2 separate regions of the Homo sapiens genome follow, and region 1 is linked to region 2. Evidence: promoter capture Hi-C in 16 types of primary human blood cells and fetal thymus (Javierre and others, 2016). All regions are on one chromosome and are shown on one strand. The core of a region is centred on a gene start or on the middle of the fragment in contact, and the rest is flanking DNA. Distances in the headings are between cores, read along the strand shown. Region 1 overlaps ARCN1 (archain 1 coat protein complex I subunit delta). Region 2 holds the start of HINFP (histone H4 transcription factor).

What was found. The method cuts DNA at HindIII sites, captures the fragments that hold promoters and counts their contacts. A CHiCAGO score of 5 or more calls a contact.
Region 1: a contact is called between a fragment that was not itself captured here and the fragment with the promoter of HINFP in region 2, in 2 of 17 cell types (activated CD4 T cells and non-activated CD4 T cells). The highest score is 5.6, in activated CD4 T cells.

The regions. Positions count from the first base shown.
Region 1 is chr11:118,574,806-118,580,496 of GRCh38, forward strand. The region is part of intron 1 of ARCN1 (archain 1 coat protein complex I subunit delta); the gene reads left to right. It also overlaps a transcript of IFT46 not described here. Among named protein-coding and RNA genes, the nearest start is that of ARCN1, 5.2 kb to the left of the region's middle. The HindIII fragment of the contact is 2,250 bases long and covers 647-2,896 here.
Region 2 is chr11:119,118,303-119,123,707 of GRCh38, forward strand. It overlaps HINFP (histone H4 transcription factor), which reads left to right and starts at 3,278. Exons shown (of 10, transcript NM_198971.3): 1 at 3,278-3,337. C2CD2L (C2CD2 like) reads left to right here. Exons shown (of 14, transcript NM_001290474.2): 14 at 1-242. RefSeq lists a silencer at 3,012-3,291. The HindIII fragment of the contact is 5,005 bases long and covers 1-4,110 here.

The sequences.
Region 1 (5,691 bases), core at 522-3,021, 550 kb before region 2:
AGGGCAGTAGCTATTCACAGGCGCTATCATAGTGCACTGCGGCCTAGAACTCCTAGCCTCAAGCAATCCTCCCGCCTCCATATCCCAAGTAGCTGGGACTGTAGGCATGCGGGCCTTGATTTGATCTTTTTTTTGTATTCTGCAAATTAATGAGAACATGTTCTGACTTTTTTTCTTGTTTGTTTGGTTTTCGAGACGGATTCTCGCTCTGTCTCCAGGCTGGAGTGCAGTGGCACAATCTCAGCTCACTGCAACTTCTGCCTCCCGGGTTCAAGCTATCCTCCTGCCTCAGCCTCCTGAGTAGCTGGGACTGCAGGCGCCTGCCACCACGCCCAACTACTTTTTTGTATTTTTAGTAGATACGGGGTTTCACCATGTTAGCCAGGATAGTCTCGATCTCCTCACCTCGTGATCTGCCCGCCTCGGCCTCCCAAAGTGCTGGGATTATAGGTGTGAGCCATGGCGCCCGGCCCCTGTATTATTTATGTATCTTTTTAATTGTGTTTTGAGGGACAGCAAAGAAAGAAAATGATTCTCTTGAGTTTCCATTGATTTGCCATCTATTTATGTCTTCATATAGAAGTTCACTGCAGAAACTGATAACGGGTGTGTGTGTGTGTGTGTGTGTGTGTTTTAATTCTCTGCAAGCTTTTGTTTTAGAATAGAAATGTGATGGACTTAAAACCCTCACTGAGTAAATTACTTTTCAAGTTTTAGGTTTCGTATGTGGTCTACATTTTATTGTAATCTTCTCTCTGATTTTATCTATAATAGCTTCATATAAATAGAAAAGACAGAACAGTCCTCCCTGACAATTATAGAAACTAGCCTTAATATGACCATGAATTGTGTGTGCATGTATATGTGTATAAAATATTGCGGTGAATTACAAAGGAGAAGGTGACTATAATTCTGGAAGTAAGGGATCCTGAAGCATTTAGAGATTCAAGAAAGAACTTGACTTTTTTTGAGAGAGAGTTGTGCATATTTATCCTGAATTATTATACCACCTGTTATTCTTGTATCTCTCTTGCACACACAATTTGTTATGGTTAGACAATTTGCCTTCTGGCAGCCTAATGTTACTATAAAATATTGTTCCAAAGTGGTTAGAACTGGAGCAGTGGGTATAAAATGGAAGTATTGTACATTTTCTGTCACTGTAGTTGTTTTTTTTTTTTTCTGTTACTGTAGTTTTCAAATGCTTAGACTTACAGAACTTTAAAGACACAGAGCACTTTGGATTTCATGTAAACTAACCTCCTATGTTAGGGATATTTCAATAATCAATTAAGTGACTTATCCAAGGTCACATAATTAGTGGCAAAGGCAGAACAGAAACCTAATTCTCCAGGTTTTTTTACTTGAGGCACTTAACAATTCATGTAGTTAAGTCTGTGTAGGAGAGAGTTGTTATTTAGTCCAAAGATAGTGTACTCAAACCATGTAAGAATTATTAAAAGTTGTTTGGCAAAGCTCAACTTTATGAGGGAATTTTTTTTTTTTTTAACCGTCCTGGAGAGATCATCTAACTTATGGGCCCTCAGTTTTCACATCTGTAAGACAATCAAGGGCTCTTGCAAGTTCCTTTTAGATCTGGAATGTTTTTTCCAAAAATGTTAAAAAAAAAAAAAAAAAAAAAAACCAAAAACTTTGTAATCATATTTATTAATTCTTCCTCAGAGAAAATCAGATCAAATTTCAATAGGGAAAATTGTTAACTTACCTTTTAGTATATGCTATATTTTAATAATTGTTAAACCAGTAAACATTAATGTAAAGAGGTTTATTATTTCAAGAACTTTAAGAAGACAAATGTTAATTTAGGATAGGATAAATTTATCATGTTTAGAGGTGACCATACCTTCTAGCCATATTAGTAGCTGTAACAGAGAGACCTGTGTCAACTGCCTGGAACCTGTAATTTGTGGTGTCCTGGGTGTTCGGAGATTTATGCTATACTTAGTATGGGGAACTATGGTCCTATTTTGGAAGCCTTGTTTTGCTTGTATCTGGATAATGGAATGACTCAAAGAGAGACATATGATTTTACCCTACTTCTTTCTTCATCTTGACGTACTGAAAGCCTGGAATTCTGGCCAGGTGTGGCGGCTCATGCCTGTAATCCCAGCACTTTGGGAGGCTCAGGCGGGCAGATCACTTGAGGTTGGGAGTTTGAGACCAGCCTGGGCAACATGGCAAAACCCTGTCTCTACAGAAAAATACAAAAAATTAGCCAGGTGTGGTGGCCTGTGCCTGTAGTCCCAGATACTTGGGAGGCTGAGGTGGGAGAATCACCTGAGCCCAGAAGGTTGAGGCTGCACTGAGCCAAGATCACGCCACTGCACTACAGCTTGGGCAATAGAGCAAGACTCTGTTTCAAAACAAACAAATCCTGGAATTCATCAAAGCATGATCTAAATTCTGTTTCTTTCTTTCTTTCTTTCTTTTTTTTTTTTGAGGCAGAGTCTCACTTTGTAGCCCAGGCTGGAGTGAAGTGGTATGATCTTGGCTTACTGCAACTTCCGCCTCCCAGGTTCAAGCAATCCTCCCACCTCACTCTCCCCGTAGCTGGGACTACAGACGTGCACCACCAGACTTGGCTAATTTTTTGTATTTTTTGGTAGAGACAGGGTTTTCCCATGTTGACCAGGCTGGTCTCGAACTCCTGACCTCAGGTGATCTGCCTGCCCTGGCTCCCAAAGTGCTGGATTAAGGCATGAGCCACCGCTCCCGGCCTAAATGCTGTTTCTTCTATCAAGTCATCCCTGACTGTACCAGCTGGAAGTAATCTCTTCCTCTGAATTTCCACGCACTTTATCGGTTACTCTCTCATGTTACTTAACACATTCTGCCTCATATTACAGTTATTTGTGTTTGTGTCTTATCCCTATTAAGCTTCTTGTAGGCAGAATGCTAGCCTGTGTCATCTTAATTCTCAGAAAGCATGTTGTATGTATAGTAGATGTTCGATAAATAATTACTCAGTTAATTCTTATAATATCGCAAAAATGGAGATTACCAGTACCTATAATTAGTTTTTGAACATGCTCATCAGTAAAGTGGATGGGCCAGGTGCAGTGGCTCACTCCTGTAATCCCAACACTTTGGAGGCCAAGGCGCGCAGATGACTTGAGGCCAGGAGTTGGAGACCAGCCTGCCCAACATGGCAAAACCCTGTCTCTATTAAAAATAGAAAAATTAGCCAGGCTTGGTGGTGCTGGCCTGTGCCTGTAGTCCCAGTTACTCAGGAGGCTGAGGCATGAGAATTGCTTGAACTCAGGAGGCAGAGCTTGCAGTGAGCCAAGATGGCACCACTGCACTCCAGCCTGGACTACAGAGTGAGACACTCTCTCAAAAAATAAATAAATAAATAAATAAATAAATAAATAAATAAATAAATAAATAAAGTGGATAGTAACATACACCTTTTTGTTCCTTTTTCCCTCTCAAGTTGCTTTTGATGTTTTTACCTAAATTTTACTTGTATGGTATAGAGGTGTTTTTAACTCCAGTTGGAAACCTAAGAACTACCCTTGAGCCTGTAAACATTGTTTCTAACAGGTTTATTATTAGATATGGGGTTTCTATTAAATGCAGCATGTTTATATAGGTCTGAAGTTTTGGTCTGAGCTGTCCTTTCTTTAGGTGTTCATTTGATTTGTCTTATTTCTTCAAAACCTCATAAAATTCTAACATAGAGGACCATGACTTCCTAGAGCTATGACTCTCAACCTTTTAGGGATAGGAGGCTCTACAGGGATTACATTTACAATATGCTCCCATTTATTAATAATATTTCTCATCGCATGAGGGGATTTTCTATGGGCCATTTGAAATAACTTCTCTAGAGGATCGATGCATTCCCTGAAACTGTATGTAAAATTTTGGGGGGAGAGTCAATATTCATTATTTGAATATCAAAATATTGACAAAGGCAAAAATCCATTGCCTTGGCCGGATGCTGTGGCTCACACTTGTAATCCCAGCACTTTGGGAGGCTGAGGTGTGCGGATCACTTTAGCCCAGGAATTTGTAGCCTGGGCAACATGGCAAAACCCCGTCTCTCTTTTTTTTTTTTTTTTTTTTTTTTTTTTTTTTAATAAAAAAAGAAAAATCCATTACCTTGAAGTGGCATAAATTTTTTTCATGAGATGCATGTTTATTATTACTAATGGTGCTGTTTTACATCATGAATATATGTGCTACAAGTTGTATAGCACTTCTGAAGTACAGTTTCATTATAGTCATTTGGCCCTCATAATAGCTTGTAAGGTCATTAGATAATGCTGCATTTTATAGGAAAAGAAACGAGGTTAAGAGAGGTTGGGTAACTGAAGGTCAGGCAGATAGTAAATAGAAGAACAAAACTAGAAAATAGATTTTCTCACTCCCAGTCATTTAGTTTTTCTAATATCAGCTTGGTTCTTTGCAAATTTGGGACACTAGTTCTAAGTCTTTAGGAAAAGGAGAAACCAATGTGAAATGATCCCAAATATAAGGGAATTCCCTACTTTTCTGATGAAACTATTAAGAAGGAAAGCTTTTTGCCAATTGTATAAACTTTTTAAAATGCAGCCAAAATAGGCCGGGCGGTGGCTCATGCCTGTAATCTCAGCACTTTGGGAGGCCGAGGTGGGCAGATCACCCGAGGTCAGGCATTTGAGACCAGCCTGGCCAACCAACATGGTGAAACCCCATCTCTACTAGAAATACAAAAAAAAAAAAAAAAATTAGCCGGGCGTGGTGGCAGGCGCCTGTAATCCCAGCTACTCGGGAGGCTGAGACAGGAGAATCACTTGAACCTGGGAGGTGGAGGTTTCAGTGAGCGGAGATCTTGCCATTGCACTCCAGCCTGGGCAACAAGAGCAAAACTCCATCTTAAAAAAAAAAAAGGTAGCAAAAATAGTCAAATATGTTCTTAAAATAGTTAATAATTCACTTATATGTATATGTTTTAAATAAATAAAGTTTAATTTAGAAATAATTACTTTTTTCCATTTTCATATTAATAAAACAATTTTTTCTAGATTCTTTATGAACATCATGTCATCACTGGGGCCACTTTTTGAATCATCAGTTTGGTATTTAGCAGTTTTGAATCCATGTGTGATATATTGGCAGTTTGGGAAATTTTATCCCAAGTCATAAAAACCCATTTATATAATATTAGGATAGTTGCTTTTAAAAGGAATATTTTGTAACTGATATTCAACACATGAAATTGTGAGTTCTGGCTAGGCGTGGTGACTCATGCTTGTAATCCCAGCACTTTGGGAGGCCAAGGTGGGCTGATCACTTGAGTCCAGAAGTTCAAGACCAGCCTGGGCAACATGGTGAAACCCCACTTCTACCGAAAATACAAAAATTTGCCAGGCATGATGGCACCTGCCTATAGTCCCAGCTCCTTTCAGGGGGCTGAGGCAGGAGGATTGTTCAAGCCCAGAAGTTGAGGCTACGGTGAGCCAAGATTGCACCATTACAGTCCAGCTTAGGTGACAAAGTGAGACCCTGTCTCCAAAAAAAAAGAAAGAAATTGTGAATTCTGATCCTCAGGATAATTACTAAATCCAGTGACCTTTTGTTAGTACTACATGCAAAACTAGCGTAGTTTGAAGATAAGATGTATCCCAGACAATTATTTTAGTTCAATATAAAGTCATTGAGGGAGCACCTTTAATATGAGAGACT
Region 2 (5,405 bases), core at 2,028-4,527:
TATACCCATTATTTAGCTCCCACTTATAAATGAGAATATGCCATATTTGACTTTGTTTCTGAGTTATTTCACCGAGGATAATGGCCTCCAGTTCCACCCATGTTGCTGGAAAACACATGATTTCATTCTTTTTTATGGCTGAGTAGTATTCCACTGTGTGTGTGTGTGTTGGGCGATGATAATGATGTCCATTGCTGTGTGACAGCTTGGAATTTAATTTATTAAAGTCAAGTTGGAGTTTATAAACTGCATTTTCTTTATCACTCACTACATTAACTACGTTTTCTTTATCCAATCCTCCATTGATGGACACATCGATTTGGTTGATTTTTATGTAGTGAAATGTTCAATTCTAAGTCATGAAAATTCAAAGAGATTTTTCAAGCTGTTTCCCCAGTCTAAGAAATGTAACTCTTAGTGGTTCACAGAGGAACAGTTTTTCTACCAGTATGACACGACAACCAAACACAGTGAACTTGTGATTGCACAAGAAACTTTTGTTGATGGGAGAACAGGTATTCAGAGTTCTACAGGACCTGGGGAATGAGTAGATGGTAACTGGAATCTGTATTGAGCTTCCAGTACTGAGCTGCCCAGAGTTCCATGGAATCACATATTTTAGTGAAGAAGAGCCTGATCACGTTTCAAAAATAGGGAATTTTTAAATGAATGAAAAAAATACGAAACATATTTTCATCAACTTAATCCATTTCACACTTTCAGAAGGGATCCACAGCTTTTAATGAGTATGAATTATGCTTTCAGTTTTTGTGGCAGCTTTTAAAGAACAAATCTCAGGATATGTCTGAATTACCCAGCCAAAATTGTGGCTTGTTTTCAAGAGAAGCAGATTGAGATAGAAGTAAACTATGCTAGACAGAATGACACTGCTTTAAATTTTGGAAACATATATATGGATCCCAGAGCAATCCTGAAATTTTTGCTCTGTAACCTATGTTTGAGTTTACACAGCTCTGTGAATGAACTTTTTCTTCATAAAATTGCTAAATAAAGCTAAAAGCTATTTTCAGTGGTGTAAATCTGAATTAAAATGAGGATGGCATTTCATGAAGTACTACTATATGCATTTTTGAATGAATAAAGTTGGTAAGATATATTTTGTTACTTTTGAATTACATTTTTTAAAACGCTTTTTTTTTTTTTTTGAGACAGAGTCTCTCTCTGTTGCCCGGGCTGGAGTGCAGTGGAGTGATCTTGGCTCACTGCAACCTCTGCCTCTCAGGTTCAAGCGATTTTCCTGCCTCAGCCTCCTGAGTAGCTGGCACTACAGGCACCCACCACCACACCTGGCTAATTTTTGTATTTTTTGTAGAGATGGGGTTTCGCCATGTTGGCCAGGCTGGTTTCGAATTCCTGACCTCATGATCCGCCCGCCTCGGCCTCCCAAAGTGCTGGGATTACAGGCATGAGCCACCGCGCCCTGCAAAACCCTATTTTAAAATAGGGACCAAGTTATAACTCACTGTTGTTAAAACCAAAATTTATGCACAAGTATGACTTTACTATCTTAATGGCATTTTAAATTTTATTTTATATATATTGAACATTTAATGTGTTTTCTGATTGTACAAATTATATAGGTTTATTTTTAGATTAGAAGATACAGAAAACTACAATGCAATAAAATATCAGTCTTAACCAACTTTATTAAGGTATATTATTTAACAAGTATGTCTTGAACCCTTACTGAGTTTCAGCCACTGGGCTAAGTGAGTGATGGGTTTTTTGTTTTATTTTGTTTTTTGTTTTGTTTTGAGACAGAGTCTTGCTCTGTTGCCCAGGCTGGTGTGCAGTGGTGCCATCTCAGCTCACTGCAACCTGTGCCTCCTGGGTTCAAGCGATTCTCCTGCCTCAGCCTCCCGAGTAGCTGAGATTATAGGCGCCCGCCACGATGCCCAGCTAGTTTTTGTATTTTTAGTAGAGACGGGGTTTCCCCATGTTGGCCAGGCTGGTCTTGAGCTCCTGACCTCATGTGATCCACTCGCCTCGGCCTCCCAAAGTGCTGGGATCACAGGCGTGAGCCACGACACCCGGCCCACTGATGGAGTTATAAAGGTGAAGAACTAGTCTAGTGAAGAATGCAGACTGAGAGTAAACAGACAAATACAATGTGACTGAGCTGTATTGTTAAATACAAGAAAGGACTATCAGGAAGACTTTTTGGAAAAAGAAGCATCTACACTGAGACCATAAAAATTAGTAGGAGTCAGTCAAATAAATGTGGGAGGAGGAGAAAGGGATTATTCCAGGTAAAGAAAACAAGTTCAAGGCTTGAGAGGTAAAAGGTGGCTTGGTGTGGTGGAAAAGGTGAAAGAAATTTGCGACTGGAGAGCAAGAAATATGGTCGAGAAGGACTAAAAAAAAGTAGACAGGGAGAGCCCAGATGCTGAAGGGTCTAGAAAACCTCAGTATGGTTTTGGAGCTTTGCCCTGAAAGCAATAGAATGCCTTTGAATTGTCTGAAGCAGATGGTAACTTGATCAGGTCTGCTTTTTGCAAAGTGGAGAATGCTTTGGAAGGAAGCAAGTGTGCACGCAGCGGGACCCATTAGACTAATGTATAAATCCTGCCTGGAGGTCATCACTGGACAGGGGAGGTGGGGGAGGCGGTGAAGATAAACAAAAGGGGATAAATTTGAAATATCCTGTTTTAAAAGGAGGTAGAATCCACAGAACTTGGCAATGGATTGGATGTGAGAAGTGAGAGGAATCAGTGATGACTGCCAGCTTTCTGACCTGAACGAGTGGATGAAGGGAAGCCGAGTTTTGGGGGGAAAGAGAAACATATAATACCAACATTTAAAACATAATAAGACTAAGAGGCTGAAGGAAAGGGTAGAACCTTCAATCTGAGCCGAGCGGGGCCGACAGCGCTGGGCAGCATCCCACGCCTTTTTCTCCGCGAGGCCCACGCAACCAGCCAACTAAAGCGAAGAACCACGTGAGGGAGACCCCACTGCGCACCAGGCGCGAGCCCTGCGCATGCCCGTTGGGTCCCGGAGGCCGAGCCTGCGCAGTTAGGGGAACTCAGGCCCATAGGCTCCCCGCCTTTGCGTTGCCCTGAGCAGCGAGGCGCGGTCACGTGCTACCTTTTGCACGTATCCTGTCGCCCCTCTGTCCGCCCGGGACGCCTAGCCCCACCCACTGTTCCCGCCCCTTCCGTGTTTTGGTGCGCACGGGTTCCGCCAGACACAGCTACCATTGGCTGTCAGTCGGATCCGAGAACGACGATTGGCTTTCCTTGACCGTCCCTCAAGCGCCTCTCCGGAGATGGTCTGAGGTGGGAGAAGAGCTGAAGAGACCTGGAGCCGACAGACGGTAAGCTGGGGTATGTGCTCTGCAGGGGCTGCAGGAGGCCAAGCTCTTCCCGAGCCACCTCGGCGAGTATTCTTGCCGCTTGGCCACGCTGGTCTGCCCTGGTCCGGTCCCCTCACCCCGACTGGAACCTCCCTGCTTTCTAGTCTAGGGGCTTCGCTGCGGCTGAGACTCGGTCGCCGCCACGCCTTAGCGTGAAGGATTCCGGGAAGCCTGCGGGACTGCGAGTGGAGAGGTTTTGCCCAACGGGACGGTCTCCTTCCTTCTGTCCAAATTCTACCTGTCCTTCGAGGCGTGGTGCGGGCCCCACTGCTTAGGGGAGACTTCCTTTTCGCCTGACCGCGGAGGTGTCTCTCTGTCCTGGTCTCCCTCATCGGGTACTTTGTTTCGGTCGTTGTCTTCACGTATCAGTCTTATCTTTTTGGCCAAATTATGAGTTCTTAGGCGTTTAGGACCCTTTTTTTCTTGAATACCACAGTTCATTCATTGTCTTGCGTTACAGTATATGCCCTCTTAAGTGTTAAGAGGGTAGAGTGAAGATCATGCCCCTATCTCCTCAGAGTAGAAACAAGAGACACAGAAAGAGAAATTAAAGAAGACAGGAGGACAGTCAGAGAGCGTCAGGGAGTTTTGCCTAGGTTTCAGATCATTCTGTATCGCCAGCTAGCTTGCCTCCTTGGACTTACCCACCAGTCTAACAGCAGGTGTATGTTTAGAATATTTGTGCTCGGCACAGTGTAGGGACACGGGCAGGTGTGATATGGTTTCTGCTCAGAAGCTTCTTATAGTCCAATTGGGTAAACGAGACTAGAACACATAAAACGACCATGGCAACATGAAAATAGGGTTGAAGTTTTATGGTGTCAGCTGTGCCAGCCATAGAACTAAGGAGCAAGAGTAGATTCAGGGATGGGGTAGTTTAGGAAGGCTTCCCGGAATGTGATTATCTCCTGATATTTATTGAGTACCTGGGGTGTGCAAAGCTCTGTGCTGAATCTGAGAATGAGAAGTGAATAAGTGATGGCCACTGTCCTGAGAAACTCCTAGTCTAGGGGAAACAAGTTTCATTGCATTGATAGCAAAGATGTGTGTGGATGCCGTGGGCAAGAGATGGGATATGCCAGCTGTACCTGGATGAATTGGGAAGGGGGTCATCAAAGAGAAGACTTTGGGGTTTGAAAGGCGAATAGAAGTTGCATAGGTAGGCCTGTCGCGGTGGCTCACACCTGTAATCCCAGCACTTTGTGAGGCCGAGGCGGGCGGATCACTTGAGGTCAGGAGTTTGGGACCAGCCTGACCAACATGGCAAGACCTCGTCTCTACTAATACTACAAAAATTAGCTGGGCGTGGTGGTGCGTGCTTATAGTCCCAGCTATAATACTTCGGAGGCTAAGTCACGAGAATCGCTTGAACCTGGGAGGCGGAGGTTGCAGTGAGCCCAGATCACAGCACTGCACTCCAGCCTGGGCGACAGAGCAAGACTCCATCTCCAAAAAAAAAAAAAAAAAAAAAAAGAACTTGCGTAGGCAGAGAGTTTTAGGAGAATGTAGAGTATTCAGAGACAAAGATGATTGAATCAGAGGAAGAGGGAATGAAGTATGGGTGAGGAAGCCAGAGAACAGCATCATGTGGGAGAAAGAGCATGATCTTTGGATTGGAATGAGGGTGCTCTTACATCAGATGAAGTGTAGAGAGGACTCACCACAGGGCTGACACACTGTAGCTTCTCAATAGATGTTCGTTTCCCTACCTAGAACTGGAGAAGTAAAATTGAGACCACTTTGAGAAGAGCCTTGCATTTCATACTGTAATAGTCAGAGGAGGTGTGGGATTTTATGACTTTTGAAGCTTTTTTCTACTTTTCTTACCACAACATTATAAAAGCAGTCAATATTCAATATTTCTTTCTTCTTTTTTTTTTTTTTGACAGGGTCTGGGTCTGCCGCCCAGGATGGAGTACAATGGTGTGATCTTGGCTCTTTGCAACCTCTGCCTCCTGGGCTCAAGCCTTCCTCCCACCTGAACCTCCCAAGTAGCGGGACTGCAGGTGCATGCTACCACATCGGCTGT